Regions from separate parts of the Homo sapiens genome. Here regions 2, 3, 4 and 5 are each linked to region 1. The links are contacts of gene promoters, found by promoter capture Hi-C in human tissues and cell types (Jung and others, 2019). All regions are on one chromosome and are shown on one strand. Each heading gives the region's core, a stretch centred on a gene start or on the middle of the fragment in contact. The rest is flanking DNA. Distances are from core to core; before and after follow the strand shown. Region 1 holds the start of MRPS35 (mitochondrial ribosomal protein S35). Region 2 overlaps BMAL2 (basic helix-loop-helix ARNT like 2). Region 3 overlaps BMAL2 (basic helix-loop-helix ARNT like 2). Region 4 overlaps BMAL2-AS1 (BMAL2 antisense RNA 1). Region 5 overlaps PTHLH (parathyroid hormone like hormone).

What was found. Contacts are between HindIII fragments. The study calls those that stand out against the background at their distance.
Region 2: a contact is called between a fragment that was not itself captured here and the fragment with the promoter of MRPS35 in region 1, in 2 of the 25 tissues and cell types used here (adrenal gland and lymphoblastoid cells).
Region 3: a contact is called between a fragment that was not itself captured here and the fragment with the promoter of MRPS35 in region 1, in 2 of the 25 tissues and cell types used here (H1 embryonic stem cells and lymphoblastoid cells).
Region 4: a fragment that was not itself captured here is called in contact with the fragment with the promoter of MRPS35 in region 1 in 1 of the 25 tissues and cell types used here (IMR-90 fibroblasts).
Region 5: a contact is called between a fragment that was not itself captured here and the fragment with the promoter of MRPS35 in region 1, in 3 of the 25 tissues and cell types used here (H1 embryonic stem cells, lymphoblastoid cells and neural progenitor cells).

What each region holds. Positions count from the first base shown.
Region 1 is chr12:27,707,206-27,712,914 of GRCh38, reverse strand. It overlaps MRPS35 (mitochondrial ribosomal protein S35), which reads right to left and starts at 2,083. Exons shown (of 8, transcript NM_021821.4): 1 at 1,960-2,083. The coding sequence starts at 2,071. It overlaps MRPS35-DT (MRPS35 divergent transcript), which reads left to right and starts at 2,168. Exons shown (of 5, transcript XR_001749448.2): 1 at 2,168-2,252. RefSeq lists enhancers at 1,663-2,452, 2,463-2,542, 2,573-2,652. The HindIII fragment of the contact is 7,635 bases long and covers 1-5,709 here.
Region 2 is chr12:27,373,868-27,379,576 of GRCh38, reverse strand. It overlaps BMAL2 (basic helix-loop-helix ARNT like 2), which reads right to left. Exons shown (of 17, transcript NM_020183.6): 4 at 3,190-3,231. Among named protein-coding and RNA genes, the nearest start is that of BMAL2, 44 kb to the right of the region's middle. The HindIII fragment of the contact is 3,078 bases long and covers 1-2,789 here.
Region 3 is chr12:27,397,871-27,403,579 of GRCh38, reverse strand. It overlaps BMAL2 (basic helix-loop-helix ARNT like 2), which reads right to left. Exons shown (of 17, transcript NM_020183.6): 10 at 2,806-3,046; 11 at 2,217-2,323; 12 at 1,906-2,056; 13 at 903-961; 14 at 39-147. The region is part of intron 1 of BMAL2-AS1 (BMAL2 antisense RNA 1); the gene reads left to right. Among named protein-coding and RNA genes, the nearest start is that of BMAL2-AS1, 46 kb to the left of the region's middle. The HindIII fragment of the contact is 4,832 bases long and covers 1-4,765 here.
Region 4 is chr12:27,440,602-27,446,310 of GRCh38, reverse strand. The region is part of intron 1 of BMAL2-AS1 (BMAL2 antisense RNA 1); the gene reads left to right. It also overlaps a transcript of SMCO2 not described here. Among named protein-coding and RNA genes, the nearest start is that of BMAL2-AS1, 3.2 kb to the left of the region's middle. The HindIII fragment of the contact is 5,519 bases long and covers 856-5,709 here.
Region 5 is chr12:27,963,606-27,969,314 of GRCh38, reverse strand. It overlaps PTHLH (parathyroid hormone like hormone), which reads left to right. Exons shown (of 6, transcript NM_198965.2): 5 at 5,545-5,709. Among named protein-coding and RNA genes, the nearest start is that of PTHLH, 6.3 kb to the left of the region's middle. RefSeq lists an enhancer at 1-433. The HindIII fragment of the contact is 6,179 bases long and covers 1-4,638 here.

The DNA.
Region 1 (5,709 bases), core at 834-3,333:
TCTGGAGTAGCTGGAACTACAGGCATGGGCCACCACGTCTGGCTAATTTCTTGTATTTTCAATAGAGACGAGGTTCCGCCATGTTGCCCAGGCTGGTCTCAAACTCCTGGGCTCAAGGGATCCGCAGGCCTCGACCTCCCACAGTGCTGGGATTACAGGAATGAGCCCCCACACTCAGCCCCTTGGCAGGGCTTTTGATTTTCTTCTTCCAGTCTTCCCAATTCGTGTACATGGAATCATCATTCATCCAATTGCTCAGAACAAAAATGTAACAGGATTTTTTTGAGACTTGTCCTCAAGCCCCACATCAAATCCATCAGTAAATCCTATGAACTTTACCTTCAAAATATATCGCAAATACAACCACACCTCCTTCTCCACTATTACTTTAATCCAAGTCACCATCACCTCATTTGGATTACTGCAACAGCCTCCAAACAGATCTTTGGCTTCCACTCTTACCCCAGTAAAGCAGCCAGTGATCTTTTAAAAACGTAAATCACATTATATCAGTTCCCTGTTCCAAGCCTTTCAATATAAAACCCAAGCCAAAAATCCAAATGAAATGTCTACAAACTCTTGAGAGATCAGATTATTACTTAACTAACTCTCTGACGTCTTATACTACCACTCTCTCCTCTACTCACACTTAGCTCCTGCCACATTGTCCTTCTTCCCGTTCCTTGATCACACCCCTCAGATTGTTCTCAACTTTTGGCCTTTGCACTTATAGTTCCCCATACCCCAAAGGCTCTTTCCCCATATCTCTGCATGGCTTGGGGCCCTGTTCAAATGTCACTTCCTCAGAAAGATCTTTCCTGACCATCCTGTGGCCACTACTCCCCCCAAATCCATCATTCTCAATACTCTACTTTATTTTTCTTCAAAGCATTAAACCCTATCTGACATCTTATTTAGTTGTTTGGTTGTTTATACTATTGACTTCCCCACCTTGCCGTATCTCCGGTGAGTGTCTAGAACACTGCATGGTATACAATAGGAGTTAAGTATTCCAAGAATTTAAGAATGAAAATTTAAAAATAGACAATTATTAGACCTATGAAGAGCCAGTATGAAGGATTAATGTATTTATAGTTTATCTGAAAACAATGGGAAACCATTTGTAGATCTTGAACATGAGAGCAGCAAGACAAGATCTAAATTTTGAAAACCTCATTTGGCTGTTTTGAGAATTCAATGTAGGAGAGCAAGAGGGGAAACAGGAAACGGAAAAAAAACTTGTAGAAATGAGATGGTCACCTGAACTAGATAGTTGGTAGTATGAGGAGAGTAAATTAGAGATATAACAGGAAGTAGCACAGGTAGGATCCGCCTATTGATTAGACTCACGCCAGCTCCTCCTCAACGCTCCCGTCATTCTAGCCACACTTCTATCACAGCGCCTCTCACCCTACATAGCACTTCTCCGCTAATAAATCTGTATTTTCCACTAGAGTCCTCCGGGGTAAGCACGCTATCAAGCATCCCTACAATCTCTGTTAAATGGAGGTCATCAACGCCTGTTGAATGAAGGCCGCCCATTTGGTGGCCTGGAATTCAGAGCAGCAATTTGTCCTAGCACAGCCGTATGACTCTCTTAATGTTTGGGGAAATCCATGGTTCAACAGCGCCGATGCCCGATAAACAACACAGCACCAGTAACCTGTGCCAGGGGCTGTGGACGGGGGCAACACAGGAGCAGGTCACGGGGAAGGGGGATGTAAGCTTTCTGAGCAAACTCCCAGAGCACCCAGGGCAGAAACAGGCGGCTAGAAGCCGGGCAACGCGGGTGCAGAGCACAGACCCACGTCCATGGTTTTCCTACCAGACGGGCCTGGCAGCGGACGCACTGGCCTCCCCCGGGCGGCGCTGGCTCAGCCACCGCGGCACCCTTCATGAGGCCGGTATTCCGCTCTTGCACCTCCCCCAAAGCCCAGAGAAGACGAGACAGACACTCACGCAGGCTAGGTGTCGGGACCGGAGTGGCCGAGTAGACGGCAGTGGAGAATGCACGCAGAGTCCTTGCCCTCGACTGCAGAGACAGCCATGCTGGGAGCGCGGCGGCCGCCATGGCTGCGAGGACGGCAAGCCGGAGGGGACAAGCGGCGTTCAGTGTCAGGGGCGGGCCTGGGGCCGCTAAGCGCAGGCTCCCTGGGCTGGCACCGCCCTAGGCTGGAGAAAGAGGAAACACGTTGGTCTGCGCACTCAGAGCCGAGTCAAATGTGCAGGAAGATTCCCCCAAACTGAAAGAAGTAATGAAAAGAAAACAAAAAAAATCCTTAAAAATCGAGTGAATCAGTTCGTAGAGAATTGCAGATAAAGACCGTAGGGATAGGGGTTGCGGCTCACTGAAGGCGGGCGTGCTCTGGGTGGAACCTCAGTTGATCCGAGAGTCAGGCGGTCTACCCGAGGGACTCTTGTTATTTATAATTGTTGCTTTTCTACATTTACTTGGATTAAAGAAGTCTTCAACTAATGCCAGTAATATGCGCTAAGGGGAGAGAAGCAGTATCCCGAGCCAGAGTGCTTGGGTTTCAAACTTGACTTCACCACTTCTGGGATGTATGATCTCAGACAAGTTAGCATAGACAAATATTTGTGTACAGCGTTGGCATACAGTGAACACCGCGTGTACGTAGCCTATAACTTTTAGCTATATATGGTTAGCTTGTTGTTAGATCAGCTTAGAATTACAGAAAGTCAGAACTCATCAGGACCTAGAAAATAAACTTTTAATGAACACTCTTAAATTTTCTACGGTAGGATGAATTAACATACAAGCCTTAATAAAACAATTCTCGGCCGGACGCGGTGGCTCGCGCCTGTAATCCCAGCACTTTGGGATCCCGAGGCGGGTGGATCACCTGAGGTCAGGAGTTTGGGACCAGCCTGACCAACATGGAGAAACCTGGTCTCTACTAAAAATACAAAATTAGCCGGGTGTGGTGGCACATGCCTGTAATCCCAGCTACTCGAGAGAAGAATCGCATGAACCCGGGAGGCAGAGGTTGCGATGAGCCGAGATCGCGCCATTGCACTCCAGCCTGGGCAATAAAAGCAAAACTCCGCCTCAAAAATAAAATAAAATAAAATAAATTCTCTATTTTCTCTTTATTTTAAAAATTATTTTAATTAATTAATTAATTATTATTATTTTTGAGACAGAGTCTTGCTCTGTTGCTAGGCTGGAATGTGGTAGCAGGACCATGGCCCACTGCAGCCTTGACCTCCCAGGCTCAAGTGATCCTCCTACCTCAGCCTTTCAAGTAGCTGAGGCTACAGGCACGCACCACCACACCCAGCTAATTAAAAAAAAAATTGTTTTTCCAGAGATGAGGTCTCACAGTGTTGCCAGGGCTGGTCTCAAACTCTTGGGTTCAAGCGATCCTCCTGCCTTGGCCTCCCAAAAAAGTGATAGGACTACAGGCGTGAGCTACTGCACCTGGCCTATTTTTTCTATTTTTAAGTTTTTTGTAGAGTTGGGGGTCTTGCTATGTTGTCCAGGCTGGTCCCAAACTCTTGGCTTCATGTGATCCTCCTGCCTTGGCCTCCCAAAATGTCGGGATTACAGGCATGGGTCTGGCCTATTTCCCTATTTTGTCTCAAAGTGACAAAATTATAACAGTAAAAACAACTAAAAATAAACAAAACCGATTCTTGGTAAGCATACAACCAGTAGAGCAGAGGTATGCAGGTGTCCAAGAATATTCTAGCTGTGAACATTCAGTGCGCCATGGACATCAATCAGTAAGGTATGGGAGGGGGACAAATAGCATGAGATGGACAAGTATTTGTAATATTCATCATCTTCATCTTTTCTGGACTTTTACCATCCTGTTATTGTTCCAAAATAGAAGCATGATGTATGAGTTTCCTAGGGGATTGGAACAAAGTACCGTAAACTGGGTGACTTAAAACAACAGAAATTTCCTCTCTCACAATCCTGGAGTCTGGAAAGTCCAAAATCCAGGTGTCGGCAGGGTTGGTTCCTTCTGGAGGTTCTGAGGGAGAATCTGTTCCATGCCTCCCTCCTAGCTTCTAATGGTTGCTGGCACTCCTTGGCTGGTAGACACATCACATCACATCACCTTCTGCCCCCATATTCCAATGGAGTTCTCTCCTCTCCTCGGACTATTTTTAAGATCAAAATCATGGCCTTTTTAATCAGATGGAGGTGAGGTTTGAATCCAGGCTCTGGTTCTTTATGATTTTGGGCAAATCTACCTTATCTTTCTGAGTTTCAGTTTCAAGGAAAATGACAGCAATAATATTTTTCTTACGACAGTCGTGATTAAAGGCATAAATATAAACGGTGGGCATTGGCATTAAGTGTAGGGTCAATGCAACAGCCTCCTTTTCTTGCAAGTTTGTATATTTTAGTAAAGTGCAAGTCCTATACCATAGAAATTTAGGGACAAAAGGAGTATGATCATATTCATACTGTTACCAGCGGCAAATCTGTACAGGTCTGCGGCAACCTCAATTCTTGCCTCCTCAGAAGAAAGAATTTGATCGAGGAACATAAGGCAGAAGGAGAGACAGAAGCGACTTTTAGAGCAGGAGTGAAAGTTTATTAAAAAGCTTCACAGCAGGAACAAAAGGAAGGAAATACACTGGGAAGAGGGCCAAGTGGGCGACTTGAAAGTCAAGTACCCCATTTGACCTTTGACTTAGGGTTTTATACGTTGGCATACTTCTGGGGTCTATGTCCCTTCTCCCCTGATTTTTCCCTTGGGGTGGGCTGTCTGCATGCACAGTGGCTTGCCAGGACTTGGGAGGGGAGCATGCATAGTGTGTTTATTGGAGTCGTATACATGCTTACTTGAGGCATTCTTCCATTAGCAGTTGCACGTCCCTAGAAGATCAAATACCAGTTAAATTCTGCCATTTTGCTTCTTAATGTGCACGCTTGCGCACACTCACCCAGCTCCTGAGATCTTACTGGAAAGTTGCTGATCACTAGTTTCAGGTTTTTTGTATCTATTGGGAGAATGCTATTCCCTGGTGCTGGCTGCAACCAATTATTGTTTTAGAAAGACAGTTAATAACCACCTGACCGTCACCTGATGGTCGCCTGAAATTCCTGGGGTGTGCGTGTGTGTGTGTGGAGGGGGGTGTGTGTATAAGGGGAGCCCTCTCCTGCCCTGCTCATTCATGACTAGCTACCTACTCTAACAATATTTCTTAATTTCTGAGCAAGATATTAAAGACATAGGTCCCCATTCTACCTTGCTATGCGTTCTATCTTTTGTTGTACTCTCTCCCTAAGACTAAAGTGGATAGATGACCAGAGCTAGAGGAGCCAGAAAAATACTTATTGTTTTCCGTGGCATCAAGTACAGTAAGTTTCATTCTATAGTAAAAGTTAAAAATTCATTCATAATGCTATTAATGCTATCAACAAGCAAAAATATCTGTCTTGTGCAGTGTAAAGAGTAAAGCATGTACTATCTTGCACATAGGGGTTACTAAGATTACATAATTTTTCACTTGGCAGTGATCTTAGAGGTGCAATCATTCACTCACGATAAAAATATTTTCTTTGCTGGGTGCAGTGGCTCACTCCTGTACTCTCAACATTTTGGGAGGCTGAGATAGGGGAATCACTTGAGCTCAGGAGTTTAAGCCCAGCCTGGGCAACATAGCAAGAGCCTGTCTCTACAAAAAATACAAAAATTAGCCAGGCATGGTGATGTGTGCCTGTAGTCC
Region 2 (5,709 bases), core at 1-2,500, 330 kb after region 1:
TCATTCTCCCCTGGTCTCCACAGCCTCTCTGCCTCCTGGTCCTCCTCCACTCTCCCTGCTCGGTTCAGTCCCCTCGTCTCCTCACCCAGCTCTTACTTGATCCTTAAATACTGGTGTGCACTAAGATTCCCTGCTTAGCACCGCTCTCTCCTCACTCTTTATTCACCCTGAGATCTCATTCCCTCACAAGGCTTTACAGCTACTCATAAGCTATTTGTTATTATAACCCTATCTCATTCATACTTCACTCAGTTCCTGACCTTTGGAACTAGAATTATAAACCTAAATGATTCTCAAGAAATCTAAAATTCAAGAAACCCCAAACTGCATGCATTCTCTGCGATGTACCCCCATTTTCAATTCTTCCTGTACTACTCCTGATTTATAGGGTTTATCTTCCTTCTATAGGGTTTATCTTGGTAGGTAACACAACTAGACTCAATCTAGACTAAGCTTGTCCAAACTGTGCTCCAGGATGGCTTTGAATGCAGCCCAACACAAATTCATAAACTTTCCAAAAACATTATGAGATTTTTTTTTTTTAGCTCACTAGCTATCATTAGTGTTAGTGTATTTTATGTGTGGCCCAAGACAATTTTTCTTCTTCCAACGTGACCCAGGGAAACCAAACGATTGGATACCCCTGGTTTAGACCCTTCCTCTTCACCCTAAAAAGCCAAAGAATCACAAACTCCTGTCAATTCTAGATCTTAAAATATTTCTTAAATATGTCTTCTCTTCCTCTCCATCCCCTCTGTCATCATCTTAATTTAGGCTCATTGCATTACCCCAAAACCTTTTAAACTGCTGTTCCTTCCTCTCCTAGTCTATTCTATGACTTCCAAAATTATGTAGTAAAACAAATCCAGTCACCTAATCCCCTTGCATAAAACTATTCACTGCATTTCCACTGCCCAAGAGGACTAGCCAGATTCCCTAATTATAGGCCAGGGTTCTCCCTGATCTGCCTCATGTCTTCATCTCCAGTTTCTCTCTTCAAGACTTTCCCCGACAGCTCCAAATGTTCCACAGCAGCAACGCCTGAAGACTTGCTCATCCTCACACATGCCATACCGTCTCACATCTCCTCCATGCCTTGCTCTTTACCAGGCTTACAAAGTCCTTTCTGACTATACTGTTGGAGAAATCCTATTCTTTCTTCAAAATCCAACTCAGTTATTCTTCTGGGAAGCTTTCTCTGACTACTACATGATTAATCACTGCTCTCTCTAAGCTACCTCAGTACCTTTCATACCACTACCCTTATTTCATCAAATCTAAGAGCCACCAATTGTAAGACGCACTATTATTTAAAGCATCACAAGAGAAAGAAATGCTGCCAATTGACAGGAAGATGCCACTGATGATAAGAAATTTCCACAGAAGATAAAACGTAGAGGAGAAAAGTGTATCTTAGATTTCAAGAATTACATGATTTTACCTGTCACACTTTGCTGTAAATCCCTCTCCTACAACACACAGCAACTCCAGAATTTCTCTATTAGAATAGTTTAGGGGCAATCTGATGAGAAAGAGGGTAAGTGGGAGACTTCCCTGATCTGTTTTTATAAAGACTTTAAATTGGATAAAAGAAAGTGTAATTTTTCCAGATAAGAGTAGGGAGGTGGGTAGGGAGGAACACCGATGAAGGCTGTGGGAGCTACCACACCCCCTGCCCCAACCATTCACCCTCGGCAATGACACTCCTGGAACAAAATACACACTGTTGGGCGAAGTGGATAGGATTCAGATTAAATTGTATTCACATAAAATTCAGTTATCTACTCATACTTTGTTCTATTTGTGAGCAATTAGATTTTTTTCTTTATCTTTTTAAAGACAAGGTCTCACTCTGTTGCCCAGGTTGCAGTGCAGTTGTATGATCATAGCTCACTGCAGCCTCAAACTTCTGGGCTCAAATGATTATTCTGCCTCTGCCTTCCAAGGAGCTGGGATTACAGAGCAATTTGATTAAAATTAAAATGTTATGATTAAAAGAATATTGTAGTTACACTCTCACTAGAAGGATCATCTCTTCTAACAGTATTCCCCATCAGCATGGACAGCAGCGATGGATAGAGACTCCTGACTCCAGGATGTACAGCAGAGGAAGGGGTGCTCTCTCTGAGCCAGGATCTGGAGAGAGATGAGAGCAGGGTGGGAGAAAGCCCACTGTGGAGAAGGTCAATGATGATGCTGGGAGCCAGGAAACCCAGGGCAAGGTGAAAGAACCAATGTCTGAATAAAGTACTTTACTTGAAAGAGCTACACCCGAAAAGGTTTCTGGAGGCTTTCATTAAGGAAAGGCATATTTATCCAGAGGCTAGCTCTCTGCTTAATACTTCATCAGAGCTCTGGCTCCTAATTCTGTGTACAGTTACTGCCATGTTGAACCATGGCAGTATTTTGTAGAATCCTATCAGAAAACAAAATAAGTGGAGAAAAAGCAAAACTCTGATAGGCGATGTTGCCAGATGTAGAAAAATATTTTATTGTTGTTGTTGAAAAAATATGTTGAAATAATTGACAAAGAACTCATGAGGATGGGTTTCTTTTTTTTTTTTTTTTTTTTTTTTGAGACGGAGTTTTGCTCTGTCGCCCAGGCTGGAGTGCAGTGGCGCGATTTCGGCTCACTGCAAGCTCTGCCTCCCGAGTTCACGCCATTCTCCTGCCTCAGTCCCCCCGAGTAGCTGGGACTACAGGTGCCCACCACCACGCCCGGCTAATTTTTTGTATTTTTAGTAGAGACGGGGTTTCACCGTGTTAGCCAGGATGGTCTCGATCTCCTGAACTCGTGATCCACCTGCCTCGGCCTCCCAAAGTGCTGGGATTACAGGTGTAAGCCACTGCGCCAGGCCGAGGATGGGTTTCTAACAGTCAGATGCCCCTCATAAGTAACTGATTTGTTTAAGTCATTGATCAATTTTTCTTTAGTGCTTGAAGAAAATAATAGGTTTTTTTTTAAGCTATTCTAAGAGAAAGTTAAAGGCATGAAAGCCAAAATGTTATCCAAGTAGACAGAAAAGCAAGACATCAGGTGCCTGATAACATTGCTTCTCAGAGCATAACAAGAGAGAAAAGCCTCATCTTCAAGCCCTTCTACCTTGGTGTCACCTTTGCCTTAGGCTACAGGCTTGCCTTTGTGTACCTTTCCACTCACCATGTACCATCTCAACAAGTCAATTGTACCTGAAGGCCTTCATTTTAACTTGGTGTTCACCATCTTCCACTCTACAAAAAAGCAGGATAAAATATCAAACTACATGAAGTACCTTTTCTGTAGTTCTTGATAGAGAAATAGATGTGAGATTAAGTCCAATCAATCATCCTAATTCCTATAAAATCCTTAGCTGTAAATGCTCCCTTGAGCACCTAATGACCTGAAATGATTCTTACTGTCTACATGAACCATTCTCCTCCTAACGCTGACAGGCAACACCATTCCCATAAGGATAACAAAAGTTATGTTAACTGACAGTGAACAATAATTAGTGTGCTACTTACATAATTAGATATGATCTCATGACAAACTTAAGCAAGAATAAGATTTTCATAGAATTAACATTAAAGTTATTAACATCATTGATGGCTTAACCAAAAACTTTATGATAGCTGTATTAAAACAGCCTGAAAATGGATTAAGAATCCCAGACCTTTAATCAAAAGGAATTTATTTTGCCTAAAAATCCACCTGGATGGTAACCAATATTGAAAACTGGAAACTCTTACCAATAATATTAATTTTCACATTAGTATAGTTCCTAGCATCAGAAATGTACTCAGCAGACGATTACTAAAATGAAATACGTTGGTAGTGATAGAAGACTGTCAGCATTTAAAAATCATGCAGGCTGCATAGCTTTTAAAAATATGTAATCTTAAAAGATTTATTTCCAAATGTATCGTTTTGTGGGAGATTTGAAAAATTCCAGGAAAAGCACCCATAATGCCACCTGGAAGTAATCACAGTTAATATTCTAATGTGTCTCCTTCCAGCATTTCCTAAACATGTAGATACATACAATGATTATTTAGCTTAGCCATGGTGCATGGGTACCATGTAGATATTTCTGTGTGTTCTACATGTATAATAAATAAAACTCAGATCATAGTATATAATTTTCATGTCTTGTCTTATTCATTTAACACTCTAACATGAATATTTCTGCGTAGTTTCAAATATTCTTGGATAACATAATTTGAAATGATTAAATAGTAGCCCACTGATTAGTTATAATTTATTCATTTGTTATTGTTGGATATTTCAACATTCTAATATTTTCAATATCATAAATAATATGGCTAATAATATTGTGGTGTGTGCATCTTGAATTATACTCTAGGATAAATTCCTAGAAGTACAATTTATGGATAAATATTTTAAAGCTTCTGATTCATCTTAACAAATTTCCCTCTTTACAGATTTTTAACAATGAATATTTTTCAGGCTTTGAAGAAAGGCTGGCCTACTTTAGAACTGTCTTATTCAGTTGAACTCTTTTGAGGTTTTAGTATTTTTCTACTTAAAAAAAGATAACACTTATAGAAAATTTAATCAAATTTATAAATAGATGCTTATAAATATTCCAAATAAAAAAGACCACGAAGACAAATGCTTAATCAAGTGGTGCTTTTCCTCTTCACAGTTTCAATCAAGAAGAGCTTTTATATTTATGGTACTTTATCAAAAATATTTCCACACTTGATTCTCACAGCACAGTGGTGAAGTTATTACTACCCCCATTTTACAGATGAAGGAGTTGAGTAAAGTTAATGACTGTGCAAGGTCCTATAACCAGTGGAGGCCAAGTGAAGACTACTCAATGCAGGCTGGTGCGCCTTCCACCATACCTGGCCATTTCTCTCACCACCGTCAGCCTGTTGTGTGGTTGGTACAAATAAAATTAAACAGCCTCTCTGAGGCAAAAGAGAGGGTCAGATTAAGTCAGCTTCTTTTCCCTTTTCTCTTTTTAGCCATCTTAAAGGAATAATCAGAAAACAATTATACAGATGAATAATTTTCTTCCTAATAGTCTGGAATTATATATAATTGTCCCTCAGCATCCATGGGGGACTGGCTCCAGAGCCTTCTGCAGATACCAAAACCTGTGGATGTTCAAGTCTCTTCACAGTATTTGCATACAACCTATGCACATCCTCCCATATACTTTAAATCATCTCTAGATTACTTACAATACCTAATAAATGTAAATGCTATGTAAATTGTTGTTATATGGTATTGTTTAGAGAATAATAACAAGAAAAATTAGTTTGGATATGTCCAATACAGACTTGCTTTTTTTTTTCTGGATATTTTCAACTTTTGGTTGGTTGCCCATGGATATGAAGGACTGACTATATATATGTATGTATATATACATTACTTCAATTTCAAAAGGTAAACTTTGACCTTTTAAAATCATGTCTTTGCTTTGATCATTGGCATTTTAGCAAATGAACTCACTGAGTGAATTTGCCTCCTTGGTGAAATTCAAATGTACTGTACTTACTAAATGCAAATACCCTTCTATTTAATGGCCCCTGGCAGAATAGAACAAAGGCAAGATCTTCTTAGTCAAACAATTCATTTCTTTGTTTGTAGCACAAATCTAGATAGTTAGTAAATTTGGTCTATAATCCTAATATTTTACAAATTTTTACAAATGTGTTTTAATAAGCTTTCTGATATTAATAATGGTCACATTACTG
Region 3 (5,709 bases), core at 1,100-3,599, 310 kb after region 1:
TTTTACTTTTGAAAATATTTGCAGCAATAAAACATTACCTCTGTAAATCCAGAATTTCATTTGCAATATCTGTTCCAATACTACCAGCACCAAGTACTGTTCCAGTAGACATTCCAGGTACACTCATACAGGACTGTCTAGAGGATTCTAAGTAACAGCAAAAGGAGAAATTCAGTTGAGGACTTTATCTTTCTTTCAATTCAAATAATTTCACAGTTCTCTCCTTAAAAGAAACAGACTAGCTGCATCCAAAAAAGTTGGAAAACACTCATCCTTGCATTACATATGTAATTCATGATGCTCTTTGAATCAAATGTGTAGAGTCACTGAGGGCACAATTGTGACTAGTAACCCTTGACTCCAGTCTCTTGCCACTTTAATCTCCACAGCAATACTACTTCAATGTTTCCTAAGATTTTTATTTTTACAAATAATACATTAATATATTCCTGTGGTGAAAAACTCACACAGATAAGCAAAAACTCCCCCAATACTTTTCGTTAATTTGTCCAAGAGTGTCACAATTGACAAGGAACAATGTTAGCTGCTAGGGCTGAAAAATGGATAAAACATCATTCCTGCCTTAAAGAACTGTCTACTGGAAAGCAAGTTGAATGAACAACTAATTGCAGTATAATGCAAGATTATAACAGAAAAGTGAGCAAAGCACTGTGGGAATTTTGAGGGGGACATGGTGATACCTCTGGGAGTTTAAATGGGATATCTATTTCCCGTTGAATTTAGTCTCTTCTAAACCAAAGTTGGGATTCCTATAACCCAACCTGCAGAACTACTTTTAATTTCACCTTCAAATTTTCCCCTCTCCAGGACAGAAAAAGATAGTAATAGTCTTAATAATATGTCTTAGTAATAAGTCTTCCATCATCTAAAAGTAAGCTTACCTTCTGATGATTGAGAGCTACAAGGTAAAAATGATGCTTCTCCAGGCTCACTATGTCCCCTAGAATTAAAAACACCATAGGTGATTTACTTTCTAAGGTGAAGGAAACTGTTATAGCAACTACACTAAGATCTGTATATTTAATTTGTCAATTTGTGGCCCATTTATGTTTTATATACACATATTGTTAGTATCACCACCAGAAATCAAGGTCTTAATGTGCTAAGTATCATGGTGTTTGCCAAATGCCCCATTCCTCTATAAAGTATGTGTTCTCACAATAACAAACTCTCAGTTCCTGTACTAATAATAAGTAGGCAAAGACTACTGGGATGGGTGACAGGAAATACTGGAAGTATTAAACTTTTTTTTTTTTTATTATTTTTCTCTCAGTATTGTAGACAAGGAAATAACTGGTTCAAGGAAACCTTACAGCAATTTCAAAGAGAAACTTACAGAAAAAAAGTAAGACTTACAACGGGGCCATCCTAGCCTCCTATAAAATCAGGAAAACTTGACTCTTCCTTCAGGCTGACACAGCTACAGACCAGAGCTTGCTAAAGCAACACCTGGGCTGGATTTCTGTTCTCCCCCGTGCTGAGCATGCCTACACAGACATGGCGGCACCCCAGGCTTATAAGATGTGCAGGTAAAAATGACAGGGAGGACAAAACAATTTCTTACAATAATGCACAGTAGAAATCCACGTCTGCATTGTTTACTGAATGGCCATGGAGGGTAGGAAGAAAATGCTTGAATAAATGCCTTTACCCTCACATATTATATCAAGTAAGAAGGAATGTATTACAGAAATGAAAACTTTTAGCTTAATTCTGAGAACTAATGTCAATGAACAGTAAATGAATTACTCAAAAGATAAATCTCAAGTTACAATAAAAGGCCAGAGGATCACACAGTTTTAATGGTTTAGCAAGATGAGAGGAGAAAAGCAAAGAGACTCATTTGAAATCAATATAAAGGTCTTAACATAAAAAATTACTTACAAAACTAAAGTGTTGACAGATACAATATATTCCAGTTCTTTTGTCCAAGGATTTGTGAAACTAAACCATTGGCTTTTTAAAGTTACAAAAGAGCCATCTTTTGCTCTGAATTTGTAGGAATCTGTAAGTATTTTCTCCTTACTCTGTAGAACTTAACGAGAAAAGATAATTATCAGCATAATAGTCAATGACTATAAAAATCAATGTTGTGAAGATTAATTCAAACTTCAAATTTCACAGGAATGGGAAATTAAGAGTTAAAACTGTCATTTTAAATTCCCCAAAATGTATTCTGCTCAATGCATACCTACCTGCTTTGTGCTTGTCAGTCAAATTATTGTGGTCATCTTGATGAAAATATTCATAACAAGAAGTTCCCAAAAGTTCCTGAGGCAGATATCCTAAAATCGCTGTTGCCCTGGTTTCAAAATTGAAAATAAACTTCAGAAGTGGTGAGTGTACTCCCTCCCAGAAGACTGTAGGCCCACATATGGTCAGGATCGTAAAGAAGTGCACAGGGTAGGGGATGAGTGACCCATGCATATCACTGGGCTCCCCTCGGCTGCCCTAGACCCAGACTAGAGCTGCAACACAGAACAGGCACCCAGGCATGAAGCCTCCACCCGATCCAGGCTGTGCTCCTACTAGCTTTTGCCAGTAAAATCGTGGCCACAGATCATGCCCAGTTTCTGCACCACTGGCTAAGAGACACTCTTCCAAGTTTACATGTTGGCTTAAGCAAATTTACTGACATGTCCATATTCTTATTTCATTTAAACTTTATTTTCTGTTCTGAAACAGAAAAAAGAAAAAGAAAAACTAGCAGTGCTACTAAGACACGCCTTTAATAGCTTCAAATATCCCATTGAATTCTAATCATTATAACATGTAAATGTTTACCTTTGATCTACATAGACAAATTTTCCATTCACTGCAAACCGGGTTATAAATTCAGTTGGTTTCACATTAATCTCTCCACTGTTCTGTGGAACAATATATGGCTGTAATCTTCCAATGGCCACAAGGCAGGTAAAATTACTGTTGTCTTTCTTACTGTTCCTTTCTTCTTCCATTCCAACAATATTTGGAGGCCAGCTTCTCAAGTAACCAGTGCAATGGATAGTATAGAATTTTCTGTGCTCTAATTCAAAGATTTTTAAAAAGGACATTTGGATCATTATAAATAAGTCATTAAATTTCTTATATTGACATCTATAATAGTTATAATTGTGCTATAAAATGCTCTTTAAATATGCTAAAATATGAAAGGGGAATGGTATTCCATTGAAAAGATATCACCAATTTTGTTTATTTCATGACTTTATTATTAATAGATTATTTTTCTCAGGAACTAAATTGTATGTACTACATGAAAAAACGAACAGGTTGCTCTATTTTAGGATTAACTAGGTCTATGACTTAACATATTTCCAAGTCAATTTTTAAAATTATAGTAATTTACATCTATTAGAAAAAATTAATCCTCATGCCCCCTTGCAATATTGTTTTCACCTTATTAAGTTTTTTGGTATATCGTAACTTATATTCAAAACTTTAAAAAGACATTTAAATAATTATGCATACATTCTTAAATTTCTTATGTTAGTGCTTATAATGGTTAACAGATACATAAGGTTATAATAGATTATAGAAACATTTTAAAGAACACTTGGAGAAATTTATAGTGAAAAGTACAAAAATAAAATAAATTTCACTTTTTAGGAAAATCCCAAGCAATTAACTCATAGGAAGAAGCTTGTCAAGCATGTCCACCAAAATAATAAAAAATTGGAAATAATCTATATCCTCAAATATCATGCTTAAGCAAAAAATAAATCCAATACGGGCATAAACAATGAGTAGGCTACAGATTATGGCATGCCACAAAAGTGATTTAAAGGTTAAAAAGTAGGGGGAAAGCCTGATAAAAATTATTTGAAACAGCTGTTTTTATGATAAGATTTAGAAAAGATTAGAACAATCATTGTTTCAAATTGGCACTATTTGGTAAAAGTTCCATTACAATAAATCCTTTAAATTTTTGTTTAAATAGAACATGATATGAACTGTCATATAAGATAGTAGTTAACAATAATAGCAAAGATTTAGAGAATACTTTATGTGTCACAGTCTGTTTAAAGTGCTTTAAACGTATAACTCATTTAATCTTAACAGCTCTATGGGATGTTCTAGTATCTCCATTGTCCTAGGAAACTGAGTTAATGGCAAGGTCACACCAGGTACAGGATGGAGCTGGGGTTAAAACTCAGGCTGGCTCCAGAGCCCACTTTCTAAATCACTAATGCCACACCATTTGCTGATAGTGAGTGCTCTGTCACCAAAGATGTTCAAATAGGAGTTGCCTGGGTGACAGAAGGGGAGGGGCACAAAGGTGTTCCAGCCAGAGGGAATGACCAGTGAGAACTGAGAGAGAGCGGTCAGATGCGGCTGAAGCATATGCTGCAGTGGGAAAGGCTGGAAAATAAAGCAGGGAACAGAGGGCAGGTTGTAAGCCATGCATAAAACCTTGTATCCAACATTTCACAAACACCACTCCCTTCCCAGGCCACAGATGCCCTAAATTACAAAACTCCTTACCTCTTCCAACCCAAACCCAGTCTTTATCACTTATTCCCTACCCTGTTTACTGGTGCCACGATCAACCCAGGCAGTTCAAAGAGAAATCTGGGGGTCATCCTAGGCTCTACCTCCCCCTAACAACCCAGATGCCTCAAAGGAATTAAAATTGAGTAAGTACGAATAAAAGTTTTCATTTAACAAAGCTAGATGGCAGTTAAAAATAAAAGGGCTTATACATCAGGTTCAGCATTTTTGCAAACTTATGAATGATACTGACTAAAAATATTCCACTCTACTGAAAATATAGACTTAAGAAAGTCTGTATTTTTAATTTATATATGTAATCTCATCACATAGAACCTAGCCTGTTGCATTTACTTCTCTCTTACAACAGGTTACTATCTATATTTCCAAATCGAACTGTCCCTCACTTCTCACTGTGAACATTTATTCAGTTGGCAAATTTCTAGCTGGGATTGTGTAATTCTATCAACTGCAATTCATTTGATCAGCTATCTAAGTTTTTTTTTTAAAAATCCCATTTAATCCATTTCCTATTTAGAAAAGAAAAAAATACAGCTCGCTACCAGTGCAGTATTCTCAGGGCAAATGGGAAGTGGGTTAAAAATTCTTATCTCAATAATTCTTTAGCTTTTTATCTAAATATTGGAGTCATGAGGACTGATCCTTGCCAAACTATTTACTTACATCGGCTCCACAGGCTAGATTCAAGTGTCATCTACTCCATGAGTTCCCAAATGTGTGTGGGGGTGAGGAGAGGGAGAAAAAGCCTGTATTACCCTAAACACTGCCTTAATTTACAGGACATCCTTTCAAAATCCTTTATGAAATTTTTCCTCAACATGTTGCAGGCTAGGTCTCTCAACTTGGTGTCTTGCTGTCTTCACTTGAAATCTTGAGGAAGCAGATCCAAAACAAGGATTCAAATATAAGAAGTTTATTTGAGGGGTGGTCCCAGGAAACACTGGCAGGGAACTGGGAAATGAGACACGGAAGAGAAGGAAGCTAATAAAGTACCTGAAACCTGCAAGTTCCTGGAGCCACAGGCAGAACTGGCTCCAGAGACCAGAGGAGATCAGGCGGAGAGTCCCGGCTTTGGACACTGGAGGCCAGTGGCATGCCCTGTCCGCAGTAGTGGGTGCTGGGGGGATATGCCATGGGGCACTGACAGATAGCATCTGCCACACATGCACAAGAAACAAG
Region 4 (5,709 bases), core at 2,366-4,865, 270 kb after region 1:
TCTCTCTCCCTCCTCCATCTCTCTCTCCCCTTCCCCTCCTGCTCCCTCTGTTCCCAATCCCTGCTTCCCAACTCCCACCATGTGAGGACACATTAAGAAGGCCACCATTGGCCAGGTGCAGTGGCTCATGCCTGTAATCCTAGCACTTTGGGAGGCTGAGGTGGGTGGATTACGAGGTCAGGAGTTCAAGACCAGCCTGGCCAACATGGTGAAACCCCATCTCTACTAAAAATACAAAAAGTAGCTGGGCGTGTTGGTGGGTGCCTATAATCCCAGCTACTTGGGAGGCTGAGGCAGGAGAATCATTTGAACCTGTGAGGCAGAGGTTACAGTGAGCTGAGATCACGCCATTGCACTCCAGACTGGGCGACAGAGCAAGACTCTGTCTTAAAAAAAAAAGAGAGAGAGAGAAAGAAAAAGAAAAAGAAAAAAAGAAGGCCACCTTCTACAAGCCAGAAAGAGAGCCCTCACCAGAAACAGACCATGCTAGCACTTGATCTTGGACTTCTATTCTCCAGAACTGTGAGAAAATAAATTTCTGTTGTTTAAGCCACCCACTCTGTGGTATTTCGTGATGGCAGCCTGAGCTAAGACACTTGTGGAAAGGTAAGTGGTCTTGCTGGGACACATGGGTCCCTGTGGAGTTAACTGTTAAAATGGTTTGTCTGTGGTCTTATCTTGGGACATGTGGGTCTGAGTGAATTGCAGCTGTAACAAATTGAGCTTATATAGTTTACGTTGCAAGTTTTCAGTTTTGAAATTGTGGCTTTTGTTTCATATTTTAGAATCCTAAACTAAGGCTGTGATATGAATTATTGAAATTCAAAACTCTTAATAGGGTTGTCAGATAAAATATAGAACACCCAGTTAAATTTGAATTTCAAGTAAACAGTAAAAACATGTTTAATATAATTATATGCCAAATAGTGCATGGAATATACTTATTCTAAAAAAAATTCATGGTTTATCTGAAATTCAAATTAAACTGGGTTCCTGTATTTTTAAAAATTTTATTGAGGTACACTATACATGTATAATTTACCATATTTACCATTTTTAAATGCAGTTCAGTAGCAATAAATACATTGATATTCTTTGTTTTGCCTTTATTCCCCTCCCCTTCGCTGCCTCTGGTAACCACCAATCTACTGTCTATCTTCACGAGATTCACTTTTTTTAGCTCCCACATATGAGTGAGAACATACGATATTTGTCTCTCTGTGCTTGGCTTATTTCACACAGCATAATGGCCTCCATTTCTATCCATGTTGCTGCAAAGGGCAGGATTTCATTCTTTTTTTATAGCTTAATAATACTCCACTGTGTATATATATATCACATTTTCTTTATCCATTCATCCATTGATGGGCACTTAGATTCATTTCATATTTTGGCTATTGTGAATAGTGCTGCAATAAACACGGGCGTGCAGCTATCTCTTTGATATATTGATTTCCTTTCTTTCACATATATACCCAGGAGTGGCATTGCTGGATCATATGGTAGTTCTATCTTTAGTGTGTTGAGCAGCCTCCATACTATTCTTCATAGTGGTGGTACTAACTTATACTCCCAGCAATAGTGGATGAGGGTTCCCCTTTCTCCACGTCCTTGTAGGCCTCTGTTACTGCCTGTCCTTTTGATACAAGCTATTTTAACTGAGGTGACAGATACGATCACATTGTGTTTTTTATTTGCATTTCTCTGATGATTTAGTGATGTTTACAAATATTTTCTCTCATTTTGTGGGTTGTCTATTCACTTTGTTAGTTGTTTCCTTTGCTGTGCAGGAGCTCTTTAGCTGGATGTAATCCCAATTGTCTATTTTTGCTTTGATGGCCTATACTTTTGAGGTCTTACACAAGAAATCTTTGCCCAGACCAATGCCCTTGAGTATTTGCCCTGTGTTTTCTTCTAGTAGTTTCACAGTTTCAGGTCTTAGATTCAAGTCAATAATCCATTTTGATTTGATTTTTGTATATGTTGAGAGATAAGGGTCTAGTTTCATTCTTCTGCATATAGTTATCCAGTTTCCCCAGCACCATTTATTGGAAAGACTGTCCTTTCCCTATTGTATGTTCTTGATGCCTTCGTCAAAGATGAGTTGGTTGTAAATGCGTGGATTTATATCTGGGTTCTCTATTCTGTTCCATTGGTCTATGTGTGTCTGTTTTTATGCCAATATGCTGGCATACTGGCATAAAATCATGCTGCTTTGGTTACTATAGCTTTGTGGTAAATTTTGAAGTTAGGTAGCGTGATGCCTCCAGCTTTATTCTTTTTGTTCAGGATTGCTTTGGCTATTTGAAGTATTTCATGGTTCCATATAAATTTTAGGATTGTTTTCTCTCTTTCTGTGAAGAATGTCACTGGTATTTTGATAGGGATTGCATTGAATCTGTAAATTAATTTGGGTAGTATTGTAATTTTAACAATATTAATTATTTCAATCCATGAGCATGGAGTATCTTTCAATTTTATTGTGTCCTGTTCAATGTCTTTCATCAGAATTTTATTGTTTTCCTTGTATAGATCTTTCACTTCTTTGGTTAGATTGATTCCTAGGTGTCTTGATTTTTTACAAATTGTTCACTGGTGGCATATATAAATACTATTGATTTTTGTATGTTGATTTTGTGTCCTGCACCTTTATTGAATTTATCAGTTCTAACAGTTTTGTGGTGGAGTCTTTAGGTTTCTCTAGGTATAAGATTTGTCATGTGCAAACAAGGCTCATTTGACTTCTTCCTTTCCAGTTTAGATGCCTTTTGTTTCTTTCTTTTGCCAAATTACTCTGGCCAGGACTTTCCAATATTACGTTGAATAACAGTGTTGAAAGTGGACATCCTTGTGTGGTTCCAGTCTTTAGAGGAAAGGCCTTCCATTTTTCCCTATTCACTATGATGTTAGCCATGGGTTTGTCATAGATGGGCTTTATTATTTTGAGGTATGTTCCTTCTATACCCATTTTTGAGGAGCCTTTTTATCATAAGGGGATGTTGAATTTTATAAAAATGTTTTTTGGCATCTATTGAAATAATCATATGGTTTTTATTCTTAATTCCATTAATGTGATATATCACAGGTATTGATTTGCATATGTTGAAACATCCTTGCATCCCTGGGATGAATCCCACTTGATCATGGTGAATGATCTTTTTAATGTATTGCTGAATTCAGTTTGCTAGTATTTTGTTGAGGATTTTTGCATCTATGTCCATCAGAAATATGACCTGTAGTTTTCTTCTTTTGTGGTATTTTCTTCTCTGGTGTTGGTATCAGAGTAATGCTGGCCTCATGGAATGAATTTGGAAGAATGTCCTCTTCAATTTTCTAGAATAATTTGAGTAGGGTTGGTATTGGTATTAGTTCTTTAAATGTTTGATAGAGGCCAGGCACTGTGGCTCATGCCTGTAATCCCAGCATTTTGGGAGGCCAGGGTGGGAGGATCACTTAAGCTCAAGAGTTCAAGATCATCCTGGGCAACATAGTGAGACCTTGTCTCTACAAAAAAATCCAAAAATTGGCTGGGTGTTGTGGCGCATGCCTGTAGTTGCAGCTATTCAGGTAGCCAAGGCAGAAAGATCACTTGAGCCCAGGAGGCTGAGGCTGCAGTGAACCATCCACTGTACTGACAAAGTGAGACCTGACAAAGTGACTGGCTGACAAAGTGAGACCCTATCTCAAAAAATAAATAAATCAATGGTTGGTAGAATTCAGCAGTGAAGTCATCAACTCCTAGGCTTTTCTTTGATAAGAGACATTTTATTATGGCTTGGATTATTGGTTTGTTGAGGTTTTCTATTTCTTCATGGTTCAATCTTGGTAGGCTCTGTGTGTTCTGGAGTTTGTCTGTTTCTTCTAGGTTTCCAATTTGTTGGCATACAGTTGTTCATACTAGTCTCTAATGATTCTTTGTATTTCTGAGGTCTCAGTTTCTATGTCCCATTTTTCATTTCTGATTTTATTTATTTGAGTCTCTTTCTTTCTCTTGCTCTTTTTTAAATTAGTCTAGCTAAAGTTTTGTTGATTTTATCTTTTCAAAAAGCCAACTTTTCATTTCATTAATTTTTTTGTCTCAATTTCATTTATTTCTGCTCTGATTTTTATTATATCTTTCCTTTTACTAATTTTGGATTTGGCTTGTTCATGCTTGTCTAATTCCTTGAGGTACATCATTAGGTTCTTTATGTAAAGTCTACTTTTCTGATCTAGGGATTTATTGCTATTAACTTCCTTGTTAGTACTGCTTTTGTTGTATCACATAGATTCTGGTATGTTGTATTTCCATTTTCCTCTGTTTCAATTCATTTTTAAGTTTCTTTCTTAATTTCTTCATTGACCCATTGGTTGTTCAGGAGCATGTTGTTTAATTTTCATGTTTGTATGTTTTCCAAGGTTGCTCTTGTTATTGATCTCTAGTTTTATTCCATTGCGGTCAGAGAAGATACTTGACATGATTTCTATTTTTTTGAATTTATGCAGACCTAAGATATGGTCTATTCTGAAAAATATTCCATGTGCTGATGAAAAGACTATGAATTCTGCAGCAGTGGGGTAAAATCTTCTGTAAATGCCAGTTAGGCCTATTAGATATAGTGTGTAATTTAACCCCACTGTTTCCTTGTTGATTTTCTGTCTGGATGATCTGTCTATTACTGTGAATGAGGTGTTAAAGCCCGCACTATAATGGTACTGCAGTCTCTCTCTCCCTATTAATGTTTACTTTATATTTTTGGGAGCTCTGGTGTTAGGTGCATAGATGTTTATAATTTTTATATCCTCTTCCTGAATTGACCCCTTTATCATTATATAGTGACCATCCTTATCTTTTTTATAGTCTTTGATTTGTAGTCTATTTTATCTGATATAAGTATAGTTAGTCATGCTTGTTTTTGGTTTCCAGTTGCATGGAATAGCTTTCTCAACCCTATCACTTTCGGTCTACGTGTATTTTTATAGGCGAAGTGGGCAACTTGAAGGCAGCATGTAGTTAGATATTACTTATTTATCAATTCAGCTCCTCTATGCCTTCTTTATTATTATTTTTTTGAGATAGAGTCTTACTCTGTTGCCCAGGCTGGAGTGCAGTGGCACGACCATGGCTCACTGCAGCCTTGACCTCCTGGGCTCAGGCGATTCTCCAATCTCAGCCTCCCAAGTAGCTGGGACTACAGGCGTGTGCCACCGTGCCCAGCTAATTTTTATATTTTTTTTGTGGAGACATGTTTTGCCATGTTGCCCAGGCTGGTCTCGAACTCCTGAGCTCAAGTGATCTGCCCACCTCAGCCTCCCAAAGTACTGGGATTATAGGCATGAGCCACCATCCCCAGCCACTCTATGCCTTTTAATTAGAGAATTGAGACAATTTACATTCAGTGTTAGTATTGATAAGTAAGGACTTACTACTGTCATTTTGTTGCTTGTTTTCTGTGTTTTGAGACTCCTCTCTCGCTTTGTGGTTAAGTGATTATCTCTAGTAGTATATTTTAAATTGTTGCTTTTTATTTTTAGTGAAGCTACTATAGGTTTTTATGCTGTGGTTACCTTGAGGCTTACAAAAAACATTTTATAGATATAAAAGTTATTTTAAAGAGATAACAACTTATCCTAGATCACAAATAAAAGACTAGAAACAAAGGCCAAAAAAAAAAAAAAAAAACCCACAGAAAATTCCACACTTTAACTCCACCACCCCCAGCACACATT
Region 5 (5,709 bases), core at 300-2,799, 260 kb before region 1:
CTTGCAGCGGTCACCGATGCTCCTTGCCCGGGTTAGGGAGAGGGACCATCCCGGATACCTGCCGGGGCCTGAGCCCGGGTCCTCAAACCTGGCAGGAGAACTGGTTGATCTTCAACGGGAGACAGGCAAGAGAGAGACTTTATGTGTGTTTCCATAAGAGGGAGCGTTTCACAGAATCTCTTCTAGGGAAAGATCCTCTGCCTCTAGTGGAAAAGAAAAAAAGTTGGGGGGTGGTGGTTACTGTCAGGACCCGGGAAGCTTCTGAAACTCGGAGGAAGCTGAGCGGTCCTGGGGACGTATGGCCTGCGCGCTTGTATACATACTGAATGTGGGTGGCGGTTTGCGTGTGAAAAAGCAAAAGCCGTACATCTAATTTTATTATGAATGACATAATTTTAAGCATATAAAATAGGAACACATTACATAATAAAAGCGTATTATATAATAAAGTAGCAACAACTTTGCAGTGGCACGACTCCAATGTTAGTATTGATACAGTTCAGGAACGCTAGAGCGCTTGATTCCAAAATGAATTTTAGGTGTGGAACCTTTTTTTTCTTGGAGTTATTGCTAACAGTTCTTTAATCTGGAGTCAAATATTTGCATTGTAGACTGAAAACTTGTATTTTGGCATTCTCACTTGGTGATTCTTTTAATGATAACTTCAACTTTGAAATAATCATACATCCAAGCACACCAGAGAAATATCACTATGTCGTGTGACTGAAAACTTGGAAGAGTGATAGAGTAACATGATCTTAATAATCTGTTGGACCTAGCAGTTCACTAATGTGTATAACACCATAGTTGGGTGATCTTTAAACTGCAGACTCAGTGTTCAGAATGGGAAAACTATAAAGTTCGAGAACTGAGATGCGTTTGACTCTGGAGAAGGAATTAAGGCAAATTTTTACACTAACAATAAAAATAGCAGTATCTAATATTTACAGTCAGGTTTATGGTGCTTCCTTGTAAATTCCCGAGGGTGTACAAAAAGGCAACTGTTTTATACGTGCTTGTGGTCTATTATTATTAGAGGAGAAAATCCTTAAATGAAATTACTTTAGACATGTCGGAACCTTGGCATCAAAATGAAAATCTATTATGAATCTCCTAAGGCAAATTGTGTAGAACATTATACCGAAGATAAGGCTGCATTGTATTCTTCAGATCAACATTTTACCGATGTGTTTCTGAAAATTGTCTTCAGACTTTTTGCTCATTTTGAAACTTGTCTTAAATTCAATAATTTGAAATTCATACATAAATAGAAATGAAGACTGAATTTTTAAAAGCACACTTAAATACTATATTTATTTGGCTAAGAAATACTACCTTGGAACAGAGCCAATTTTTTCTTTAAAGTTGCTTAAGAAATACCTGTTTTCTCTTTTGAGAAACAGCAAATGATTCACGATTATATACACAACTATGGCATAAAAATACTGCTAAGTTGTCCTAAAGGCTATTTTTAACTCTTTCTTTGTTGCACCTTACAAAACACACATCAGAAACCATTTAGCAGCCAGCGACTGTTATAGTTTTGTTTGTGGGTGAAATATAATATTGTAGTTAAACACTCACACTCAGCAGATGGTTATAAAACTACCACAAAACATTCTCATAGTTAATGGGTAATAGATCATCACATTACAGGCATGGTTTTTCATGGAGGCTGAAATCATCAGTAGATGAAGATGTTTCATCAAATTATCATAGCCAAATGGAGTTTTTAAAAACAAGTCATTATTTTTGTCTTGCTGCCAAGTAACAGTAAATTTTGTGTGCTAGACAAAACATAAGTCTACCATTATGCTAAATCAAGCTAGTTTCTTGAAAGAAATTTTAACATATAATCAAACCATATTACTCCCCGGTTTTCACACCAAGTATTAGGGAAACTGCTTTAGAAGTATAGATTTTTTTTTTAACTAGATGCTAACTTTTAAGGGAGAGGAAATTACTATAACAATAAGACTTCCTAAACCATGCAAAGGAAGCAGTTACAAATTGTGAGTCTTTTTGACCTGTTAATCCCAAAGATTTTAATTAATGGAGCTAGAGCATGATCAAGTTGGATACTGGAAAGTGAGGCCTATGGATGTTCTTGTGCAGATGAACAAGGCTTCTGGCAGGTGGCTATCTCTATGTTTAAGTTAGAGAGGGAACTCCACAGATTCAGAAACCTAAAACGTCATTGGCTGATTTGCTTAGGAGCCAGACTGGGTCTATTCCATTTAATGAAAAGCATAACTTTCTACTGAGTCATTTGGGTTGGAAGGACCTTCTGGTGAGTCATCTTAACTCTAACACCCTAACCCTGTCTCTTGCATGTACCACAGAACTTTTCTTCTCAAACACAGAGTCCGTCCTTAGAAGCCTAGCATCAGTACAAGCATACTGCTTCTTCCTGTGCTGGAAAGGGAATTTCCATCACTGTTTTTATGCCCTCTGTTCCTTGATAGTTCCTTAGAAATCTAAGCTTCTTCCCTAAAAACTCCCTTGGAGTGATTTTTTTTTTAAAGGAGAAGAACTATGTTTGGGCTGAATTTAGGGTTATCTATGATAAGCATTTCCCCAAAATTTTGCAATTTTTTTTTACAATAATCAAAGGAGAACATGATACATAACCTACCTGTTTTTCCATTTTGGAGCTTAGGTATGTAAGTGTCATGTGAACCATAGTGCTATGTAATGTTTACAGACAAATTGAGTAAAAGACTATTATTGAGGCCATATTTACAACTTAAATATTTCAGAGTTATCTAAATTGAAAACGTCCTTAATTTGAATTTATTACTCACTACCTCTGTATACCTAGTTTATACTGATGCCATTATATTCCTGATCCTCTAATGCAACTGCCTAGTGAGAGATTCATTCTTCACAATACTTTAATTGCAGAAGTTTTTGAAATACTAAGTAAAGTGTCTAACAGCATTTCCAATTTAGCATTTAAGAAAACTTGTGTTTTCCAAGATACTAACAGTTTCCCCCAAAAGGCAGATGAAAAGCTTTGTCCCTCGTAAGCAATGTACTATTTTAAATTGAACAAAGCTGTGCCATATTGTAGGCTTTTTATAAATTAGAAGGATGGAATGATCACTGCATTTCCCAAGAGAACTATCCTGGGAAAATGCAGCTTGAGTTAGGAAGGCACTGTGACTCACAGTTGACAGGCTGGCCAAGATGACAAGCACATATGCCCATGAGAAGGGGCATATGAGCAATGGTGGCTTAATTAGAATAGACCAACCATTAAAAGTTTTGGCCTCAAGTTAAGCTAAAATGGGCTACACTTTATCCATTTGGAGAGCAATACAGAAGACGAGGGCTTCTGCCAGGAACAGAGAAAGAAATAAAAGCCCCCAATACTATAAATTATCAGTGGTTAAGAACTGCTTTTTAATGTGACATTTTGCTAAAAGATACTTATTAAACTGTAGTGCTTATGAAATATGCAATTATATCTGTCCTATTATTTTATAAATGTTATTAAAGGATATAAATACCTTGTACCAAAGCCTCAAACTTGTAGATTCTTAAAAGTTTCCAGAATACTAACTATTACCGCAGAGTAAGTGAATTTTAATCTAGTCACATGTGGCACCTTCTAAAAGAAAGAGAGACTCCTTCATGCCTCATTTAAACCAGGCTCCTGTTAAATTCCTTTCCATTAAGTCATGTCTTTTTTGAATGAGCTACATGGCTTCAAGTCAGTCCACACACTAAAATACTAGAAGGTAGCTGACATTCTAGCTAGAAGGGCCAGAGAAATGATGACTGTATTTTCATCTCTTACTCTTTTCTTTGACTCATTCATCCAGTGATAATCCAAACTCTTGTAGTTCCTAAATTTGATGATGAAAATGAACTTTCTGGGCAATAGGCTTGATCTTCAAGGAAACTGATAAATTTCTGTCCAATCTGCCTATTATTGTGGTGGCTTGTTACTCTATGCCCCATGCATATACCCTGTACTCTCCTTACCGTGTTGCCTCAACACAGGAACAGGCTGGGACTTCAGCTTCAGCTTCCGCTTAGGCAGGAGAAAGCGTTGAGGAAATTGAAAAAGCAGTCTTGGCTTTAGAATCAGAAGACCTAGTTTTTGGAGCCCTGGCTCTGCCAGTTCTCATTGTGTAGACTAGGGCAAGTCATTTAACCTCTCTGCACCTCACTTTCCCCATGAATACAATGGGGGCAGTAATAATGCTATTTATGATTGCCATATTTCTCTGAGGAGTTAAAGACATTGCACCAACAAAGGCAACAAAGGACCCAGACACCATTGTTTCAGGGAAGTAAGAGTACATGGGATGTAGCCCTGGGAAACACTTTGAGATGCTTTTGAGGATGGGCCAGTTTGGAGGACTATTCCAATGGTAGAAATTGGAGTTAATGCAGAGTTGAAGCAGGCATGATATGACTGATTAACAGATGCAGTCCGTAAATATGGTTAATAATATACACAAAATAATAAAAGAATACACAATGGACATTTAAGCAAGAGTTTGGGTGTTATCTAAAAGGATTGATAGAGAATTAGTTTATTCTTTCTCACGATATTTTCATTAGAGTGTCATTTAAATAGAAAAATCCTTTATATTTTTTCCTAGAGAATTTTAAGACAAAGAGAGCAAGTAGAAAAGTGAACTTCTCAACTAAGTAGTAAGGATCATACTCTCTGAAGTTCTAAATTTAAAAAAAAAACATGAAGCACAGAAGAAATAGAATGAGCTCATTTAAGCACACAAAGAAACCCATTTTAAGGAGACCACCCACTACTTTACAGAAAAATACACATACTCTCCCTCTCTTTCTCTCTCTCTCTCTCTCTCTCTCTGACGATTGGCCTTCAAATGTATGTTCTTGGTAGCCAGTAGTCTAAAATGTTAAAGTTCAGTCTGTGAATCAGATGGTTTCCTAGACAGGCTACACTGCTCACTTCTCCTTCAGCCTTTGTTTGTTTTTACTCTTACGGCTTGCTGTTTCAATATTATTATTTTCTTAATGGGGCGTGTGTGTGTGTGTGTGAGAGAGAGAGAGGAGAGAGAGAGAGAGAGAGAGAGAGAGAGAGAGAATACTCAGGTAAAAGCAGCTGCCTTTTATTTCCCAGGCTGGGACTTCTAGATTTATTTTCTCAGCAGAACTCTGAAAAATGTGAAGAGATACTCCGTGGTTTCTGTCTATTTCTGATCATAACTGAATCATATGTTTTAAACCGGGAAGGAAGTATAGAAATCACTGTCTCTGACCCCTTCCTTTTATACAGTTGAAGCCCATGAGGCCCAAGAATGTTCATGTTCCCACCAAGGTCACAACCTAGTGAGTGGTAGAACTGGGACCATGAGCTGGAGCCTTCCAACTGCCAGCTCTTTCCTTCCCACTGGTTACCCTTCCCTGCGCAATGAGCTTGCTACCCATCCAGCTTGTGTCTTACGGTGGACCAACTAGAAAACTAAAGAGATTTACTCATGTCTTTGTTGTCTCTATCAGCAACTAAAATTTAACTGTTTTCTTCCCCTCTAATATTTTCTTTCAAAGCAAAAGAGCTGTGTCTGAACATCAGCTCCTCCATGACAAGGGGAAGTCCATCCAAGATTTACGGCGACGATTCTTCCTTCACCATCTGATCGCAGAAATCCACACAGCTGAAATCAGAGCTACCTCGGAGGTGTCCCCTAACTCCAAGCCCTCTCCCAACACAAA